Linked DNA regions of Homo sapiens: regions 1, 2, 3, 5, 6 and 7 are each linked to region 4. The links are contacts of gene promoters, found by promoter capture Hi-C in blood cells and fetal thymus (Javierre and others, 2016). All regions are on one chromosome and are shown on one strand. Each heading gives the region's core, a stretch centred on a gene start or on the middle of the fragment in contact. The rest is flanking DNA. Distances are from core to core; before and after follow the strand shown. Region 1 overlaps SLC20A1 (solute carrier family 20 member 1). Region 2 has its middle 35 kb from the start of NT5DC4. Region 3 overlaps LOC107985934 (a long non-coding RNA gene). Region 4 holds the start of IL1B (interleukin 1 beta). Region 5 has its middle 11 kb from the start of CHCHD5. Region 6 has its middle 25 kb from the start of SLC20A1-DT. Region 7 has its middle 15 kb from the start of IL36A.

Region 1 (2,700 bases), core at 60-2,559, 170 kb before region 4:
GTTTTTAGAAAATTTGTTCTCATGGTTTTCTTTCATACTCGAATCACCTGGGCTCCTGATCAGTTAGCCTAATATCATTCTTAGGTGATGTGAATATCTTAACAAGTGAGAGCTACTGTCCAACTTAAAGCTCCCAACCCCTCCCTGTATGCTTCTTGTGTGCCCAGAATATGCAAGACATTACTCCATAGGGACTGTGGTGGCAACTTGGCATTTTCCCTTTTAGTAGCACAGCCTGTACACTTTCATGTTAGCACACGGGTGTTTTTTTTGTTTTGTTTTTCCAGTTTTTTCTTTTGATACTTTTTGTTTTTTTTTTTGAGACGGAGTCTCGCTGTGTCACCAGGCTGGAGTGCAGTGGTGTGATCTCGGCTCACTGCAACCTCCACCTCCTGGGTTCAAGCAATTCTCCTGCCTCAGCCTCCTGAGTAGCTGGGACTACAGGCGCCCACCACCACATCTGGCTAATTTTTAGTAGAGACAAGCTTTCAGCATGTTGGCCAGGCTGGTCTCAAACTCCTGACCTCAAGTGATCCGCCTGTGTTGGCCTCCCAAAGTGCTGGGATTATAGCCATGAGCCACTGCGTCTGGCCTACTCATGGTTTTTCACAGCCAAAGATTTACTGTTGAATGGACAGCTTTATTTTACTATTTTATGTAGATTGTTTTTAGCTTTGGTATTACGGTAAACCCTTGAACAGTGTGGAGGTTGGACACCAACCCCCATGCAGTCAAAAAACCATGTATAACTTTTGACTCCAAAAACTTGACTACCAGTAGCCTACGGTTGACCAGAAGCTTTAGCAATAACATAAACAGTTGTGAACACATATTTTACGTGTTATATGTATGTATTATATACTGTACTACGATAATGTAAGCTAGAGAAAAGGAAATAAAACCATAAGGAAGATACATTTACTATTCATTAAGTGGAAATGGATCATAAAGGTTTTCATCCTTGTCATCTTGAGTTGACTGAGGAGGAAAGGAGGAGTTGGTCTTGCTGTCTCAGGGATGGCAGAGGTGAAAGTAAGTCTGTGTATAAGTGGATTCTGCAGTTCAGACTAGTGTTCAAAGGACATCAGTACAAGGAAAGCAAAAATGAGTGGGAGGCAATGTGTAGCTAAGTTTTGTTTAAAAGTTCTCAGTATGGGATTCTTCAGTTCTGACCCATTATATTTTTGCCCCTGATCAGAAGTTAATGAAAAGTACATTTCTTGGCAAACTAGATTGATAGTTCCTGTCCTGAGGGTTTGGAACAATACTTTTGAATTTTGAGTTTATTTGGAGCGTTTCACTAGAAACCAACACTAAGAATCGAACAGGGTAAGGCAGTGCCTAGTCTAACCTGTGCCTGCAAGGTTAGGCCACTGGCTGGGTACATGCCGTTGCATCCTGCTGTCAGTTTAATGGTCTTGCAGAAGACTACATTTAATCCTCATGGCCTTTTGTGGTAGATCTTATCCTGATTTTGTACATGATGAAACTGGCGTGGAGAACATCTGTATTTGCCCAGTATTGTCAGTTAGCAGAGGGTGCCCGTTACTTGTAGCCTTTGGGGCTGGGTGAAACTAGCTTTATGACTTGTTACTTGAGGGAAGGGAGGGTAGGGGGCTGTTGTAAAGGGCGACCGAGCATTAGGCCTTGAACTGAGGGTCTGGGAGGAGACCCTCAGAGTTCTGGCACTGCCTTCCCTTCGTGCTGAATGACCTCACAAAAGCCCAGATCCTTTCAGAGCCCAGTGATTACATGGAGAAGAGGAACCTCCCTGGCACTTTCACTTGGCTCAGGACAGAACAGCTGAGAAAATACTTAGACCAAGCTTGTCCAGCTACAGACAATTTTTCCAGTGTGGCCCAGGGAAGTGAAAAGATTGAACACACCAAGGATGTGTTTCTGTAGGCAGAGCAGGTAGACCTGGGGAGAGGAGCCTCTAGAGCTAGGGAAGGGACCAGAGGAGCGGTTATATTTCTACTTTAGTTGTCTGCCATGGGGCAGGGACACATGGTGAGAACCCTGGCCCCCCCCTTTTTTTTCGGCATAGATATTGCCTTTTCTTTTTTTGAGACAGAGTTTCGCTCTTGTCACCCAGTTGGAGTGCAATGGCGCGATGTCGGCTCACTGCAATCTCTGCCTCCCAGGGTTCAAGCGATTTTCCTGCCTCAACCTCCTGAGTAGCTGGGATTACAGGCTTGCGCCACCACGCCCGACTAATTTTTGTATTTTTAGTAGAGACAGAGTTTCACCACGTTGGCCGGGCTGGTCTCAAACTCCTGACCTTAGGTGATCCACCCACCTCAGCCTCCCAAAGTGCTGGGATTACAGGCGTGAGCCACCACGGCTCAGCTGACATTGCCTTTTCTTAACTAAAAGTTTTTTGAAAATCAAGGTTGGGCAAATTGAAGAGCCAGCTGGTCCAACAAGGCTTGTTAACAAAAACAGGTCTGCCAACATTTCCCTTTCCTGAGGCAACCACTTTCAATTCTTTTGGTATTTGTCTCTTTATATCTAAATAATATACTTGTGTTACTATTTCCCTCTCGCATTTTTTGGCTGAGTGCGGGTGACACTTCTGGGACTACTGGGCCTTTGTCTTGGGTAGGAGTTCTCCACCAGGGGTGACTTTTGCTGTCCCCAGTCCCCATTTGTGACTCTCCCTTGTCCCATTTATGGTAGTAATATTTGGAGACATTTTTG
Region 2 (2,700 bases), core at 93-2,592, 150 kb before region 4:
AAGATTCTCAACTGTGGGTGGTTTTGTCTCCCTGGGAGCACTTAGCAATGTCTGGAGACATTTTTGGTTGTCACAACTGAGGGGATGCAACTGGAATCTGATAGAGGTCAGAGGCGCTGCTAAACATCCTACAGTGCAAGAATAGCCTCCCACAGCAAAGAATTACCCAGCCCAAAACGTCCCACAGTGTCACTGTGGTGAAGTCTTGGGATACATGAGATAGTGGGAACAACTGGCTAGCCATTTGGGAGAGGAAAACGAAGTTAGATTCTGAATCATACCACAACTTAAATAATTTCAAGTCAGGTAAAACCTAAATTTTAATAAGTGGAATCATTAATAAGATCCATAATAAATTTAGAAGAAAACACAGATAAGTTCATCCTTATGGTGTAAAGATTTTTCTAACCACACAAAGCACAAACGTAAAGGAAGTACTCAGAGGTTTAACTCAATAATCATAAAAAAACACTACGCAGACAATATAAAAGACTAATAAGAGCTGCAGCATGTGAGACAAGGAATTAATGTCCTTAATATGCAAAGAGCTCATAGAAATGAGAAGACAATAGACTTCAGAAGAAAAAATGGGCAAAGAAAAGGTAGGATGAGGAAAGTTATTAAAAACTAAGACATATGGTCAGTAACCCAGGAACAAGTTTCAGTTTTCTGCAGTAAGCACAGAAGGGGAAGTTTTACCTATTAAACTGGCAAAGATGAAGAAAATGATAGAACCCCAATTGTATTAGGAAGGGTTGAAGAAATGGGTACTCTCATGTATTGCTGGAGGGGTGGAAAGTTACAACATTTTGGAGAGCAGTTGTCAAAATCATAAATAGCCCGGTGGCTCACGCCTGTTTGTTTATCTGCATTGAGGGGTGGGAAGTGGAGGTAGCTGGAGTATCTGACTCTTTCAGATGAAAAACCTAAGACTTTTATTTTGGACAGGGATTTTTCAAGCCTCCTTCTGCCTGTGCCACATTCTGCAAGATTCAAGGAGAAGAGAACAGAAGAAATAGAGTTCTAATAACTCCATCCATCCAAGTAGCTCATTGCTGTACCAGTACTGTCCAGTAGGAACATAATATGAGCCCATATGTAACTGTAATTTCTCTAGAAGCCACATTTTAAAAAGAAACAGGCAAGCTGGGTAAGGTGGCTCATGCCTGTAATCCTAGCACTTTTGGAGGCTGAGGTGGGAGGATTGCTTGAGCCCAGGAGTTTGAGCCAGACTGGGCAACATAGAGAGACCCCATCTCCACAGAAAAATTAGCTGGGTACAGTGACATGCCTTTAGTCCTAGCTACTCAGGAGGCTGAGATGGGAGGATTGCTTGAGTCCAGGAGTTGGAGTTTGCAGTGAGCTATGATCATGTCATTGCGCTCCAGCCTGTGCGACAGAGTGAGACCCTGTCTCAAAAACAAACAAACAAACAAACAAAACAGATGAAATTAATTATTATTATTATTTGAGACCGAGTTTCGCTCTTGTTGCCCAGCCTGGAGTGTAATGGTGCCATCTTGGCTCACCGCAACCTCCGCCTCCTGGGTTCAAGCGATTCTCCTGCCTCAGCCTCCCGAGTAGCTGGGATTACAGGCATGCACCACCATGCCCAGTTAATTTTGCATTTTTAGTAGAGATGGGGTTTCACCATGTTGGTCAGGCTGGTCTTGAACTCCTGACCTCAGGTGATCCATCTGCCTTGGCCTCCCAAAGTGTTAGGATTACAGGCGTGAGCCACTGTGTCTGGCGAGAATTAATTTTAATAATATGTGCTTTAACCTAATATATCAAAAATGTTATTTCAACACATAAGCAACATAAAAATTACTGAGGGACTTGATAACAGTTTTTGGTACCGGCCTTGAAATCTGGTGCATATTTTCCACTTAGAGCACATGTGAATTGGGACTAGCCACACTTCCCGGGCTCATTAGCCACAGTGGTTAGTGCTTACCATAATGGACAGTGCAGCTGTAAGCCTGATGAGGTAGGCAGGGCTTATTTCCCCCTTTTACAGATGGAAAAAGAGGTTCAGAAACCTACAGGTGTTCCTTGGCTGAGCAGGAACCCAGGGCCCAAGCCTTCCTGCTCCCCACAGGCGGCTCCTCCCATTCTCTGACTTCCTTCCACAGCCTGAAGCACAGTCCTGGCCTCCTTGCAGCTCACAGGCAATTGGAGAGGCAGAACCAACTTCAGCTCCAGCGTAAGGACTACCGTGACTGCAGTGGAGCGGGGCTTACCAAGCAGGGAGGGGGCCGTGAAGGCGGGAGGAGACAAGGCCAAGTTATCTCTCAGCGTCAGAATGACTTTGGCTATGAGCTTCGTGTAGGCAGGGCTCCCCAACAAGCTGCTCAGGCAGCAGATCTCCTGAGACCTTCCTGAGGAGCCATCTGCCAGCACTTTTTCTTTTTGTTTTGTAAGACAGGGTCTCGCTCTGTTGCCAAGGCTGGGCTCAAGTCCACCTACCTCAGCTTCCAAGTAGTTGGGACTACAGGCGCACACCAGCATGCCCTACTAATTTTTATTTATTTATTGTTTTTTAGAGATGGGGTCTTACTATGTTGCCCAGGCTGGTCTCAAACTCCTGAGCTCAAGCAGTCCTCCCACCTTTGCCTCCCAAATTGCTGGGATTACAGGTGTGAACCACCATGCCTCGCCTACCTGCCAGCTTTCTATACGTTTAACTCGTGGTGTTTG
Region 3 (2,700 bases), core at 72-2,571, 200 kb before region 4:
TCATCAGCGCCGCTGGCAACAAGAGCTATTAAGAGCCAGCCTTTGGCGAGACAGTAAGGAACTACAGATTTAAAATTCCTAGCAGCAAAGCTGTGTCTCTTCAGGGTTTGGTTACCCATGCTGATCCCATAACAACCACCATGCCAATGGCAGGGAACATCAACAAGCAAGGTGGTGACCATGAGGATGACCTTGCCACAAAACCAACCATACACCCCACACCCCTGGGGAAGGAGGCACCCACCAGCTGGGCCCTGTGGGGCTGTTCCAGAAAGTGCAGGTTGGGAGGAGGATGGAGTGAGGAAAGAGGCCAGGGTCTAAATGGAAAGGGCCAGTGAAAGGGAGAGACAGGCTTGTTAATCAATGACCACTACAGAGTTGGAAAGAGAAGGCAAAGAAAATGCCTCACTGCTGAGGATCAGCGTCCAAAGATTTCATTCTACTGAGAGTTAAAGAGATGCCAAAGCCGGGATTAATGTTGGCAAAGGAGATATGGATGGGCCATGACACCACCAGCCATATGTAATCAGAAGGGGATCAAAAAACATCCCCAGCCTTGAAATTGGCATTTTCTCTTATGTGCTGGGTGGACATTTGGCAATATCATATAAAATGAAAATATTTGCATAGCCCATGACCCAGAGAGTCCACTTGCATAAGGACGTGCTTTATAATGGTCTATTCCACTGCAGATAATAAAAGAAGGCGTGCAAGAAGATCTATATGCAGTGACGTGCAAAGGTATCAAGAACAAGTTGCGAAACCCCATGGTATGATTTCATCTGATTAAAAGAAAAAAGGTATACACTATATATTATAGTGAAAATACCTATGTGTGTGTGTGTGTGTGTGTGTGTGTGTGTATTACAAGTAATGATTAAAAGTAGTTATGTCGGGGGGTTAGACTAGAAAGTTGAGATTCTAAGGAGGAGCATTTTTCACTTGATATTCTTCTCTATGGTATAGTTTTTACATGAGCTTTTTTTTTTTTTTTTTTTTTTTTAGACAGAGGAGTCTCATTTTGTCTCCCAGGCTGGAGTGCAATGATGTGATCTCAGCTCACTGCAACTTCCATTTCCCAGGTTCAAGAGATTTTCATGCCTCAGCTTCCTGGGTAGTTGGGATTACAGGCATGCTCGGCTAATTTTTTTTTTTTTTTGATACCGAGTTTCGCTCTCGTTACCCAGGCTAGAGTGCAATGGTGTGGTCTTGGCTCAATGCAACCTCTGCCTCCCGAGTTCAAGCAATTCTCCTGCCTCAGACTCCCTGAGTAGCTGAGATTACAGGCATGCTCCACTATGTCTGGCTAATTTTTCGTATTTTTAGTAGAGACGGGGTTTCTCCATGTTGGCCAGACTGGTCTTGAACTACTGACCTCAGGTGATCCACTCGCCTCGGCCTCCCAAAGTGCTGGGATTACAGGCATGAGCCACTGCACCCAGCGAGCATGTATTATTTTTATAATAATTTTTAAAAATCTTGAGCTCCTCTTGCCCTAAACTATTTCCCCTATTAGTCTGGTTGTTTCGGTGCCCATATATTATGAAATAATCAGAATACAAGTCTGATAAATATGAATTCTAGTGGGGACAATGGAATAGGGTATTTGCAATTGAAGTCACTGCATGAAGTACTCTCTCCCTTGTCCCTTTCTCTCCCTTCTCTGGCCTGAATGTCCCATCCCTATCCCCATACCTGTAAGTCACTCCTCTGGCTTAAATGGGGAGTTAACACAGGGTGGTGGGAAGTATAGTAGACTTGGAGTCTCTCACGCATTGCCTGCCAGGGCCCACCGTGCAGGACTCCAGGCCCTACTCTAAAACTTGCTACTTGCCCGACTGCAGGCTCTCAGACCCTCATTTCCCTGTGATAGGGTAAAAAAAATACTTGCTCTGCCTACATCACACAGATGTGAAGATAAAATGAAACAATGCCTTTGAAGGTATCTGGAAACAGGAGAGTGAGTCCTATATATATCTATATATATGTGTGTGTGTGTGTGTGTGTGTGTGTGTATATATATATATATATACACATATATGGTTTTTATAAATCAGCGTTAACATTTGATTTTATAACCATCATTAAAAAGGGAGAGGTAAATGGGTGGAGAGGGAGGAGTGAAAAAACAAAATAAAAGGTAGAGGCAGTATTCAAGGTCACAGTTAAAAATTTCATATTCCCTGCAGGTGGTAGGTGCTGAATGGTTGAATAAATGAACAGTCCTAAAATGGATATATTTTGGGGCAACAGTAAGTTGCCCCCAGGAAGAAAATCACTTTTGGAAAATAAAACTGGCAAGAATCTATGCTAAATGGATGAGACCAGCCACAGAAGCACTTCATCCTAAAAGATGGTAAAGGTGGTGTATACAAAATTAGGCCGGGTGCAGTGGGTTATGGCTGTAATCTCAGCACTTTGGGAGGCCTAGGTGGGTGGATTGCTTGAGCCCTGGAGTTCGAGACCAGCCTGGGCAACATGGTGAAACCCAGTCTCTACAAAAAATACAAAAATTAGCCATTCGTGGTGGGATGCAACTGTAGTACCAGGTACTGGGGAGGCAGAGGAAGGAGGATCACCTGAACCTGGGAGGTCAAGGCTCCAGCGAGCTGAGATTGCACCACTGTACTCCAACCTGGGCAACAGAGTGAGGCCTTGTGACAAAAAAACAAAACAAAACAAAACAAAAAACCCAACCAA
Region 4 (2,700 bases), core at 199-2,698:
TCCTCCCCTGTCACCACCAAGTGTGGCCACCACCACCAACGTTAGTGAGTGACTGTGGTGATATGATGACCAAGTGGCCAGGTCAGCAAGTGGTGCAGCCTGTGTCTCACTGGAAGAGGTTAAAGTCTTTCTAAAACAAAATACCATGGCATCAAAGTGGCCCAGAACTCCCTTCTTTGAGCTTTCCCTGTGTTAGAGCCCTTCCTTGGGTTGGGAGTTAAACCCATAGTCTTACCTTCATCTGTTTAGGGCCATCAGCTTCAAAGAACAAGTCATCCTCATTGCCACTGTAATAAAAACAGGGACATGTCTCAATTATGTCTTCTAAACAGGTTTATTTTTCCTTCCCTGTGTACAAGACTTGACTGTTCATAAGAAACTGCAAACAGCCTGCCTCTCAAAGCTGCCTGAAACACCTGGCAAGTTTCACAGTGATATGCGCAGAACAGTCCAGAAGGCAGATTCTAGGCCTGGCAGGTGGGCACCCTGGGTGCTCCCTGTTGGATCTTGAGGCCTAACCTCTAGCCCAGCAGAGTCAGCTAAAATCTGAGCTCTCCCTCTCCCTCCAAGCCACACTTTGCAAAGGGATTCCTTGTATTGTGGGCTTGGAGTCTTTTCTCCCCATTTGCCTCTGCAGGAAGCCCTTGCAACAACACATCTGGATAGCCTCCAGGTCCCAAGGCTGGAGGGACTTGTAATGGGAAAGTAGTCTTTAAATCAGATTTACTTGGCACCCTGTTTGCCACTGAAAGAGGCAATTTAGGGGAAAAATCTGGTCTCCAAGCACAGATAACACTCTACTCTTGAAAGAGGAGACCTGCTCATGTTACTGGTCTCAGCGTCTCCACTGACCTGTAATAAGCCATCATTTCACTGGCGAGCTCAGGTACTTCTGCCATGGCTGCTTCAGACACCTGTGTAAAAAGGAGAAAATGAGTGACTTCCCCATGACGGCTACGTTCATGTGTGATTTCTCTCAGCATCCAGTGCATGGCAGTCATGCAAAGAAATGATCTCTGAGTAAATGAATGAATGTGTGAAAGAGAAGTCCTTTGGGTCTAGAGAAAAGCATTTGCTAAACCAAACCCCAACTAGCAATGTATTGGCTAGGAGAGCTGGAGCAGAGGCTTTGACACTAACCTTTAGGGTGTCAGCTGTTAGATAAGCAGTATCCATTCCCAGAATATTTCCCGAGTCATAAGCATTATATTACACCTGGCATTTTTGCAAAAAGCTGAGAGAGGGAGGCAGAGAGGGAAGGAGAGGGAGAGACAGAGAAAGAAAGAGAGAGAGAGAGAGAATATGCATACACACAAAGAGGCAGAGAGACAGAGAGACTCCCTTAGCACCTAGTTGTAAGGAAGATTAAAGTCATACTTGAGCAATGAAGATTGGCTGAAGAGAATCCCAGAGCAGCCTGTTGTGCCTTGTGCCTCGAAGAGGTTTGGTATCTGCCAGTTTCTCCCTCGCTGTTTTTATGGCTTTCAAAAGCAGAAGTAGGAGGCTGAGAAATTTCTCTGTTGAATACCTGATTTCACAATCAAGTTAAAGGAAAGGGGAAAAGAGTATTGGTGGAAGCTTCTTAGGGGAGGGGACTAATAAACTGAGATAATTCTCTGGTTCATGGAAGGGCAAGGAGTAGCAAACTATGACACATTTTGCAAATGTATCACCATGCAAATATGCATTGTTTTCCTGACAATCGTTGTGCAGTTGATGTCCACATTAAAATACTGGATTTTCCCACGTTAGAAGAATGTTTAAATTTAGTATATGTGGGACAAAGTGGAAGACACACAGATTTATACATGCACATACTTTTCTTCATTCACTTCTTTGTACTTAAGTTTAGGAATCTTCCCACTTACAGATGGATAAATGGGTACAATGAAGGGCCAATAGCCCTCCCTGTCTGTATTGAGGGTGTGGGTCTCTACCTTGGGTGCTGTTCTCTGCCTCAGGAGCTCTCTGTCAATTGCAGGAGCCTCTGAGGAGAAAATTGACCTTTCTTGGCTGGGGCAGAGAACATACGGTATGCAGGGTTCAGGCTCCTGACGGAGTTGGGGCAACCCTGGAGATAAGCTCACACAACCCTGCAAGACCAGGTGCTGTTACCCTAGCCAATCTCATGGATGAACCAGATCAATGCCAGATGAGCTCTGCCTAAAATGATTTTTTGGTGAACTCTGAAAAGTGGAATATTGTTTCTGTAAGAATATCCATCTGAGACTCTATCTCTTGGTAATACCAACCAAGAGTTATCAGTTTCTCTTTAACCGAGACACCAGCAAAGTGCCTGCTCCAGGGTACTGCCCAGGGGAGCCCTCCATTTGTAGAATGAATGAGAGTCCAGGTTATGAACAGTGCCTGGAGTGTAGGAACACCCTCCTTTGCCTCTTTGACAGGTCTGCATCATAACACTTTTTTTTTTTTTTTGAGACAGAGTCTCACTCTGTCGCCCAGGCTGGAGTGCAGTGGCACGATCTCGGCCCCCTGCAAGTTCCGCCTCCCGGGTTCACACCATTCTCCTGCCTCAGCCTCCCCAGCAGCTGGGACTACAGGCACCTGCCGCCACGCCCGGCTAATTTTTTGTATTTTTAGTAGAGACAGGGTTTCACCATGTTAGCCAGGATGGTCTCGATCTCCTGACCTTGTGATCTGCCCGCCTCGGCCTCCCAAAGTGTTGGGATTACAGGCGTG
Region 5 (2,700 bases), core at 59-2,558, 240 kb before region 4:
ATAATTTTTTAATGGCCCTCCACATTTCTACTCTTCTTTCATCTTTACATGGACTCTGCAGGTTTCCTCCTAGCTCTCTGGCTATGCCACCACCTTCTCCCACCCAGCCGTGACATAATGATTTTCTTCAAGGCTTACACCAGGCCTCTTCTTATTCTCTCCTCTGTGCAGTGATCTCCTTCCTAGAGAATATCAGATAAGTCATTGGTTCACAGATGGTTATCTCCAGCCCTGGCTTCTGCCTTGGGCTTCCACCTGCTGCCATGGACCTTCATATAGATGTCTCAAAGGGAGCACTAAGTCCCAATGTGTCCGGAATTGCAGCAGGCATTATTTTCCCCAGCTTGTCATTCTCACCACCATTTCTTTGCACTCTGCCCCTGCAGAAGGTTTGGTATTGTTATTGTTGTTGCTGTTCTTTTTCTTAGAAGGCCTCACTCCATCTTAAGCCTGGATTTACAATTCCCCTTTTCATTTTTTTTTAATTTTTGTTTTATAGTTTGGGTATACAGTTCCCCTTTTGTTCATTTTATTTATTTGTTTGTTTATTTATTTATGAGATGGGGTCTCACTCTGTTGACCAGGCTGGAGTGCAGTGATGTGATCTCGGCTCACTGCCACCTCCACCTCCTGGGCTCAGATGATCCTCCCACCTCAGCCTCCTGAGTAGATGAGACTACAGGCACGCATGCCCAGCTAATTTTTGTCTTTTTAGTAGAGATGGGGTTTCACCATATTGTCCAGGCTGTTCTCTAACTCCTGAGCTCAAGAAATCTGCCTGCCTTGGCCTCCCAAAGTGCTGGGATTACAGGAGTGAACCACCATGCCCAGCCCCTTTTGTTTATTTTAAAGCTGAAATGAGGACTCAGTTAATTTTGTTGTAGTCTTGTCTGGTGAGGGGCGATTCTTCACCCTTGCTGCCGTCCCTCACACTCTTCCTATTTTCTAAATATGCAGTCAGTCATTTAGATCACATCACCTGTATGAATAAAAGCCTTTCATGTCGGCTGCATTCTTCAGGCTTCTAACTTCTTGCAATTCATCAGTTACGTCTAGTTACATCTGTGGATTCCTGCACCATTGCAGATGCAAAGCAGGAGAAAAGAAGGGTTTTCTTTTCATCTTTTTTTTTTTTTTTTTCTGAGACAGAATCACTCTATGGCCCAGGCTGGAGTGCAATGGCATGGTCTTGGCTCACTGCGAGGACCGTCTCCCGGGTTCAAGCATTACTCCTGCCTCAACCTCCTGAGTAGCTGGGATTATAGACATGCACCGCCACACCCAGCTAATTTTTTTGTATTTTTAGTAGAGATGGGGTTTCAATATGTTGGCCAGGCTGGTCTAGAACTCCTAACCTCAAGTGATCTGCCCTCGTCTGCCTCCCAAAGTGCTGGGATTCCAGGCGTGAGCCACCACACCCTGCCTTCATTTTTGTTTTGAAGGAATTACCTCCTACCCCTTAAGTCCTGCAGTCCCTGAACTTGACCTTATCTGCAGCAAAGATGAGAAAGGGGGAAGGTATGATAAAAGGAGAAAACACTTGCCAATGTTTTCTAAATTAACCCCTGACATTAAAATTTAACATTTTCTGCACTTCCTGATCACAGTCCTGTCTTTTACTCAGTTGTGGGCGTGCACTTTTTTTTTTTTTTGAGGTGGAGTCTCATTCTGTTGCCCAGGCTGGAGTGCAGTGGCGCAATCTCAGCTCACTGCAACCTCCACCTCCCGAGTTCAAGCGATTCTCCTGCCTCAGCCTCCTGAGTAGCTAGGACCACAGGCACGCGCCACCACGCCCAGCTAATTTTTGTATTTTTAGTACAGATGGGGTTTCACCATGTTGGCCAGGATGGTCTCAATCTCCTGACCTCGTGATCCACCTGCCTCAGCCTCCCAAAATGTTGGGATTACAGGCGTGAGCCACCGCGCCCAGCCTGGGCATGCATATTTTATGGATCTTAACTCGACTTTTAAATTTTCTTTGAGCATCTGGGAATTTTATGAAAGCACTTTGTTAGTTTCTATTAGTGTCCCCTATATCCAAAATTCTCATTAAAGAATGCCGTTTCCCATCTCTCAAGAATTTATCAATTCAGGCTGGGCATGGTGGCTTACGTCTGCAATCCCAGCACTTTGGGAGGCCAAGGTAGGCTGATTGTTTAAGGTCAGGAGTTCAAGACCAGCTTGGCCAACATGGTGAAACCCCGTCTGTACTAAAAAAACAAAAATTAGCTGGGCATGGTGGCAGGTGCCTGTAATCCCGGCTATGCGGGAGGCTGAGGTAGCAGGATTGCTTGAGCCCAGGAGGCAGAGGTTGCAGTGAGCCGGGATCACGACGCCACTGCACTCCAGCGTGGGCGACAGAGTGAGAGTCTTTTTTTTTTTTTTGAGACTCACACTGTGCACAGGAAGAAAATTATGTGAATGTCCTTCCTAACAGGGAGAGGCCTTCCCTGACCTTGCTCCCCTTGGGCTGCCATCAGCATGGGGCTTTCTTAGGTATCAAGGCCACCTCAGTTTGGAGAGATGCCAGAAGTGGAAGTGTCAGCCAGACCATGTTTTCATTCTACTTGTCTATATTAGATCAAAGTCAGAGAGAGAATCTCAGTTCATAGAGGGAACACTTTATAACCTGTGTTTATGGAGGAGAATCACATACCAAGTGGAATCACCTTGAAGCAAGGCTTGTGTGCCGGGGGCGAT
Region 6 (2,700 bases), core at 134-2,633, 220 kb before region 4:
ATAATTGCCCAGATCCAGGAAGCATAACTGGACAGTAAAAGCAGCATCAGGTTAGGCTGGGCATGGTGGCTTATACCTGTATTCCCAGCATTTTGGGAGGCCGAGGCAGGTGGATCACGAGGTCAGGAGATCAAGACCATCCTGGCTAACATGGAGAAACCCCGTCTCTACCAAAAATACCTAAAATTTAGCCGGGTATGGTGGCAAACGCCTATAGTCCCAGCTACAGTCCCAGCTACTCGGAGGCTGAGGCAGGAGAATCTCTAGAACCAGGAAGGCGGAGGTTGCAGTGAGCCAAGATTGTGCCACTGCACTCCAGCCTGGGCGACAGAGCAAGACCCCGTGTCAAAAAAAAAAAAAAAAAAATGCTGGGCGCTGTGGCTCACACCTGTAATACCAGCACTTTGGGAGGCCAAGGTGGGTGGATCACCTGAGGTCAGGAGTTTGTGACCAGCCCGGCCGATATGGTGAAACCCCGTCTCTACTAAAAATACAAAAATTAGCCGGGCGTGGTGGTGGGCGCCTGTAGTCTCAGCTACTCAGGAGGCTGAGGCAGGAGAATTGCTTGAACCCAGGAGGCGGAGGTTGCAGTGAGCTGAGATTGCGCCACTGCACTCCAGCCTGGCGACAGAGTGAGATTCCGTCTCAAAAAAAAAAAAAAAAGAAAAAAGCAGCATAGTTTGGTTTCCCCAGGGGTGAGCGTGGGAGGGAAAGGAGGAATGAAGAAGGAGAGTATATTGTGTTGGTTTGGGTCTCTTACAGACAGTCTGGGCCTCCTCCCCGACTCCTCAAACTCACACAGATTCTATTTAAAAAGGAAGTTCCCTTTTGGGGTATTGGCACATTTAGAATCCATATTGTCTGTTTTAAGTGTGTACTCTACTGAGAATTGAGCTTTGGTTCTCTATGTACCCTTTTTAGCTTCTCCTTTAAGCATCCATCTCTCTCTCTCTCTTTTTTTTTTTTTTTTTTTTTTTTGACACCGGGTCCCATTCTGTCGCCCAGGCTGGAATGCAGTGGTTCAATCACGGCTTACCCTGCAGCCTCAACCTCCTGGGCCCAGGTGATCCTCTCACCTCAGCCTTCCCAGTAGCTGAGACCACAGGGGTGTACCACCACACCCGGATAATTTTTTGTATTTTATGTAGAGACAGAGTTTCACCATGTTGCCCAGGCTGGTCTCAAGCGATCCACCTGCCTCAGCCTCCCAAAGTATTGGGGATACAGGTGTGGGCCATGGCGCCCAGCCTCATTCCATCCTTTTATGGCATCTATTGCCTGTGGGTGATGAGGGTCCTGAGATGTCCTGGCAATGTCCAAGGTGGTTGGCCAGTGTTGGGTACTCTTGACTATAAATGCGCATCATTTGATGAGATACATTCAGGGAATCTCAGTATGTAACACAGGTCATCTGCGAGTCCCTAAATTTATGTTACATCTACCTCCTATCTGTGGTAAGGACCTACATTGCCATGCCATACCCAGAAAGGTGCCTACTGTAGGAAATGCTTAATTGCATCCCCAAGTGGAGCATTTAGGAGGTTATGTAGCCTATTTGCCAGGACTGGCCAGAATCTGGTGTCCTGAGTTTATATGTGCCCTGGAGTTTTCTTTGCCCCTTGACTGACAGGCTCATTTACCAGACTTCGGTGGCTTCCTGTGCTGGAGTCATTCATCTTTGCTTTGGGTCCCAGTCCTGCACTGTAGACAGAATGTCGTGGCCTCTGTGATGATGTATTCAGTTGTCCTTACCTGGAAGGCACAAGTCTGATTGGGTTTTGAATTCCACTCATGCTATTTCTATGGACATCCACATCCATAAAACAGAGGGCAGTGGTGTAGTATTAATAAAATCTGAGGCTGGGTGCGGTGGCTCATGCCTGTAATCCCAGCATGGGAGGCTGAGGCGGTGGATCACTTGAGGTCAGGAGTTCGAAACCAGCCTGGTCAACATGGCAAAAATCTCATCTCTAATAAAAAAAAAAAAAAATAGCCAGGCATGGTGGATCACCTGAGGTCAGGAGTTCAAGACCAGCCTGGTCAACATGGCAAAACCCCGTCTCTACTAAAAATACAAAAAAAAAAAAAAATTAGCCAGGCACGGTGGTGCAAGCCTATAATCCCAGTTACTTGGGAGGCTGAGGCAACAGAATCACTTGAACCTGGGAAATGGAGGCTGCAGTGAGCTGAGATCGTACCACTGCACTCCAGCCTGGGCAACAGAGGGAGACTCCATCTCAGAAAAAAAAAAAAAAGTCTGATACCATAATGTTCACTGCCATAGGGATTGAGACTTGATCATTTAGTCTTGCTTCCAGGCACAGGCCCGCACTGCCAGCCCATTGGCTACCGTCTCTAAATCAATGAAAAAGCAGCAAGGAGCATTTTGGAGGGGTTTTTCAGGAAAACCACCACTGTCCCCAACTCTGTCCACTGGGTAGTACCTTTTTTTTGTGTGCAAAATTTTAAACAGCTTTTGTTTTCCCCTGTGGCTGCACAGCTGCAAGGGCCAAGAACAATCCGCCAGCCTGTAACTTAGCGGGCTCCATCTGTGAACCAGCTTCAGGCATCCTCAGGGACTTGGTGTATCAATGCCTCCATGAAGCTGGAGGTGCTGGCACAAAATGTTCCTCTGGGATCAAGGGATGTCTGGCCATCTTGTAATGCCATTATGTGACTCTTTTGATGCCTGATGACCCC
Region 7 (2,700 bases), core at 92-2,591, 180 kb after region 4:
GGACATATTCAATTTCCAAGTTCAGAGACAGTCTACATTGGTAGCTACAAATGCATATCTGGAGTTTAGAGGAGACTTCTGGGCCAGGGATAAAATTGTCAACTGATACGGCTTGGCTGTGTTTCCATCCAAATCTCACCTTGAATTGTAATAATACCCAAATGTCAAGGGCAGGACCTGGTGGAGATAATTGAATCATGGGGACAATTTCCCCCATGTGTTCTTACAGTATGAATAAGTCTCACGAGAGCCGATGGTTTTATAAATGGGAGTTCCCCTGCACAAGCTCTCTTGCCTGTTGCCATGTAAGGTGTGCCTTTGCTCTTCCTTTGCCTTCTGCCATGATTGTGAGGCCTCCCCAGCCATGCTGAACTGTGAGTCCATTAAACCTCTTTCCTTTATAAATTACCCAGCCTTGGGTATGTCTTTATTAGCAGCATGAGAACCAACTAATACGTCCACATACACCCGTTCATGAAACAAATAGTGTCACCCAGTGAAATAGTATAAAGGAGAAGAGGATTCAAGGATGAGTTCTGAGGAATTTCAACTACAAGAAGTCACATGAGGGGGAGCCAGTAAATGAAAGTAAAAAGAAAATTTCAGTGAGTCTGAGGAAAGCCCAGAGAGACTTGTTGCAGAATCCCTAGTATGTGCATGTAAAGATGTGTGGGAGCAGTGGAGTGTGCCTAGCGCTGATTGAGATTAGGACAGCAGAGTGCCCATTGGCATCAGGAAACAGGCAGGGGTGTCATTGATGGTGCTCAGAAGAAAGGTTTTGGTGGAGAAGTCAGATGTCAGAGGTCAGACTGGAGAGTGCAGAGTACTGAAGGACTAATCAGTAATCAGGCATGTGCAAATGAAAATAACAGTGAGAGATTATATCAGTGGTCCCTAAGTTTTGTGGCGCCAGGGACTGGTTTCATGGAGGACATTTTTTCCATGGACTGGGGATGTGGGTGTTCTTAGAAGATCATCATGCATTAGATTCTCATAAGGAGCGCACACATAAATCCCTTGCACACGCACTTCACAATAGGGTTCACGCACCTATGAGCATCTAATACCTCCCACTGATCCGAAAGGAGGCAGAACTCAGGCAGTACTGCTCGCTCGCCTGCCACTCACCTTCTGCTGTGCAGCCCGGTTCCTAACAGGTAAGGACTGGTAACGGTCCATGGACCATGGCCTAGGGGTTGGAAACCCCTGCTTTATGTGCTAGAATAATAAAACTTTTTAAATTTTTAAAAAGTAAAAATGTAGGGCAGGGAAGAATGAAAACACCATTGGAAGTGTAAATTTTAAAAAAATTTCGGACCATGGCCTAGGGGTTGGAAACCCCTGCTTTATATGCTAGGACAACAATACTTTTTAAATTTTTAAAAAGTAAAAATGTAGGGCAGGGAAGAATGAAAACACCATTGGAAGTGTAAATTAGAAAAGCCACATCCAAGGGCAGATATTATCTATTGAAATAAAGAATGGACTTACTCCATGGTCAAGCAATTCATTTATCTATTTTTTTCAGCTATCTTGTCTAAGATCACTTATCTATTCCAAAGAAAGTCTTGCATGTCTGCACAGAAGGCATACACTAGAATGTTCATTGCCACATTGTTTGTAAAAAAAAAAAAAAAAAGTAGCAAAATGTGGAAACAGCCTAACTCTCCATCCATGAAGGAATGGCTAAACAAAGGATGGTAAAACCATTCTGTTGGGTGCTCTGCAGCAGTTGTAAAGGAATGAGACAGCCATCCATGCCAGTGTAGACAGATATTTGAACACATTTTTCAGTGAAAAAATGAGTTGGGCTGGGCATAGTAGCTCACACCTGTAATCCCAGCACTTTGGGAAGCTGAGGCAGGTGGATCACTTGAGGTCAGGAGTTCAAGACCAGCCCGGCCAACATGGTGAAACCCTGTCTCTAGTAGAAATATAAAAATTAGCTGGGCATGGTGGCGCCCTACGCCTGTAATCCCAGCTACTTGGGAGGCTGAGGCAGGAGAATCGCTTGAACCTGGGAGGCGGAGGTTGAAGTAAGCTGAGATTGCACCACTGCGCTCCAGCCTGGGTGACAGAGTGAGACTCTGTCTCGAAAAAAAAAGAAAAGTGAGTTGGAGAAAAATATGTATTTTATTATTCCAGTTAGAGAAACATGCACTCACATGGACACATACATACAGATGCACAGGGGTACACATAAGACAACATTGTATGCTTCCAATAGAGCCTATGAGTACGTAAATGCATAAGAAATAGCCAGAGTGACACCAATTCATAACAGTGGTTACCATTGGGGTGGAGAAAGAGGAACTAGGATCTGGGGGGAAAGAATTTGGATTTATCTGGTATATTTTAACTTTATTTCAAGATGAATGTGTCGATGTATTAATAACTGAAAAATTAACGTTTTTAAAAGTGAAAAGTGTAAACAGCATGTGAAGAAAGTAGCTTTAGCAGAGGCTGTGTTTCTCAAATGCTGTGGTCCCCGTTATGTTCTGTATGCTTGAAAATTTTCTGATACAATAGCTAGGTGTTGTTCTGAGCAAATCAGTGGATGAAAGAGTGGATACCCAGGGTGGCTACTCGGTGCCTACAGTAGGAGGCCTAGACTATTACTATTCCATTGTAAGAAACAACTGACTGTCTTTTCCATGGCTATAATCCCTAACTTTTTGTTGCTGCATCTTTTGGGAGAAA

Evidence for each region. The method cuts DNA at HindIII sites, captures the fragments that hold promoters and counts their contacts. A CHiCAGO score of 5 or more calls a contact.
Region 1: a fragment that was not itself captured here is called in contact with the fragment with the promoter of IL1B in region 4 in 1 of 17 cell types (monocytes); the score reaches 6.0 in monocytes.
Region 2: a contact is called between a fragment that was not itself captured here and the fragment with the promoter of IL1B in region 4, in 1 of 17 cell types (monocytes). The highest score is 6.3, in monocytes.
Region 3: a fragment that was not itself captured here is called in contact with the fragment with the promoter of IL1B in region 4 in 2 of 17 cell types (monocytes and M2 macrophages); the score reaches 5.5 in monocytes.
Region 5: a fragment that was not itself captured here is called in contact with the fragment with the promoter of IL1B in region 4 in 7 of 17 cell types (M2 macrophages, monocytes, megakaryocytes and 4 more); the score reaches 12.8 in M2 macrophages.
Region 6: a fragment that was not itself captured here is called in contact with the fragment with the promoter of IL1B in region 4 in 2 of 17 cell types (monocytes and M1 macrophages); the score reaches 6.9 in monocytes.
Region 7: a contact is called between a fragment that was not itself captured here and the fragment with the promoter of IL1B in region 4, in 1 of 17 cell types (M2 macrophages). The highest score is 5.9, in M2 macrophages.

Annotation. Positions count from the first base shown.
Region 1 is chr2:112,663,814-112,666,513 of GRCh38, forward strand. It overlaps SLC20A1 (solute carrier family 20 member 1), which reads left to right. Exons shown (of 11, transcript NM_005415.5): 11 at 1-12. Among named protein-coding and RNA genes, the nearest start is that of SLC20A1, 19 kb to the left of the region's middle. The HindIII fragment of the contact is 1,027 bases long and covers 797-1,823 here.
Region 2 is chr2:112,684,450-112,687,149 of GRCh38, forward strand. No RefSeq gene overlaps it. Among named protein-coding and RNA genes, the nearest start is that of NT5DC4, 35 kb to the right of the region's middle. The HindIII fragment of the contact is 6,630 bases long and covers 1-2,700 here.
Region 3 is chr2:112,636,771-112,639,470 of GRCh38, forward strand. LOC107985934 (a long non-coding RNA gene) reads left to right here. Exons shown (of 2, transcript XR_001739642.2): 1 at 1-800; 2 at 2,190-2,700. Among named protein-coding and RNA genes, the nearest start is that of SLC20A1-DT, 6.1 kb to the right of the region's middle. The HindIII fragment of the contact is 4,837 bases long and covers 1-2,700 here.
Region 4 is chr2:112,835,331-112,838,030 of GRCh38, forward strand. IL1B (interleukin 1 beta) reads right to left here and starts at 1,449. Exons shown (of 7, transcript NM_000576.3): 1 at 1,378-1,449; 2 at 853-914; 3 at 236-287. The coding sequence starts at 899. The HindIII fragment of the contact is 1,771 bases long and covers 1-1,576 here.
Region 5 is chr2:112,594,083-112,596,782 of GRCh38, forward strand. No RefSeq gene overlaps it. Among named protein-coding and RNA genes, the nearest start is that of CHCHD5, 11 kb to the left of the region's middle. The HindIII fragment of the contact is 7,050 bases long and covers 1-2,700 here.
Region 6 is chr2:112,617,823-112,620,522 of GRCh38, forward strand. No RefSeq gene overlaps it. Among named protein-coding and RNA genes, the nearest start is that of SLC20A1-DT, 25 kb to the right of the region's middle. The HindIII fragment of the contact is 9,749 bases long and covers 1-2,700 here.
Region 7 is chr2:113,019,248-113,021,947 of GRCh38, forward strand. No RefSeq gene overlaps it. Among named protein-coding and RNA genes, the nearest start is that of IL36A, 15 kb to the left of the region's middle. The HindIII fragment of the contact is 5,467 bases long and covers 1-2,700 here.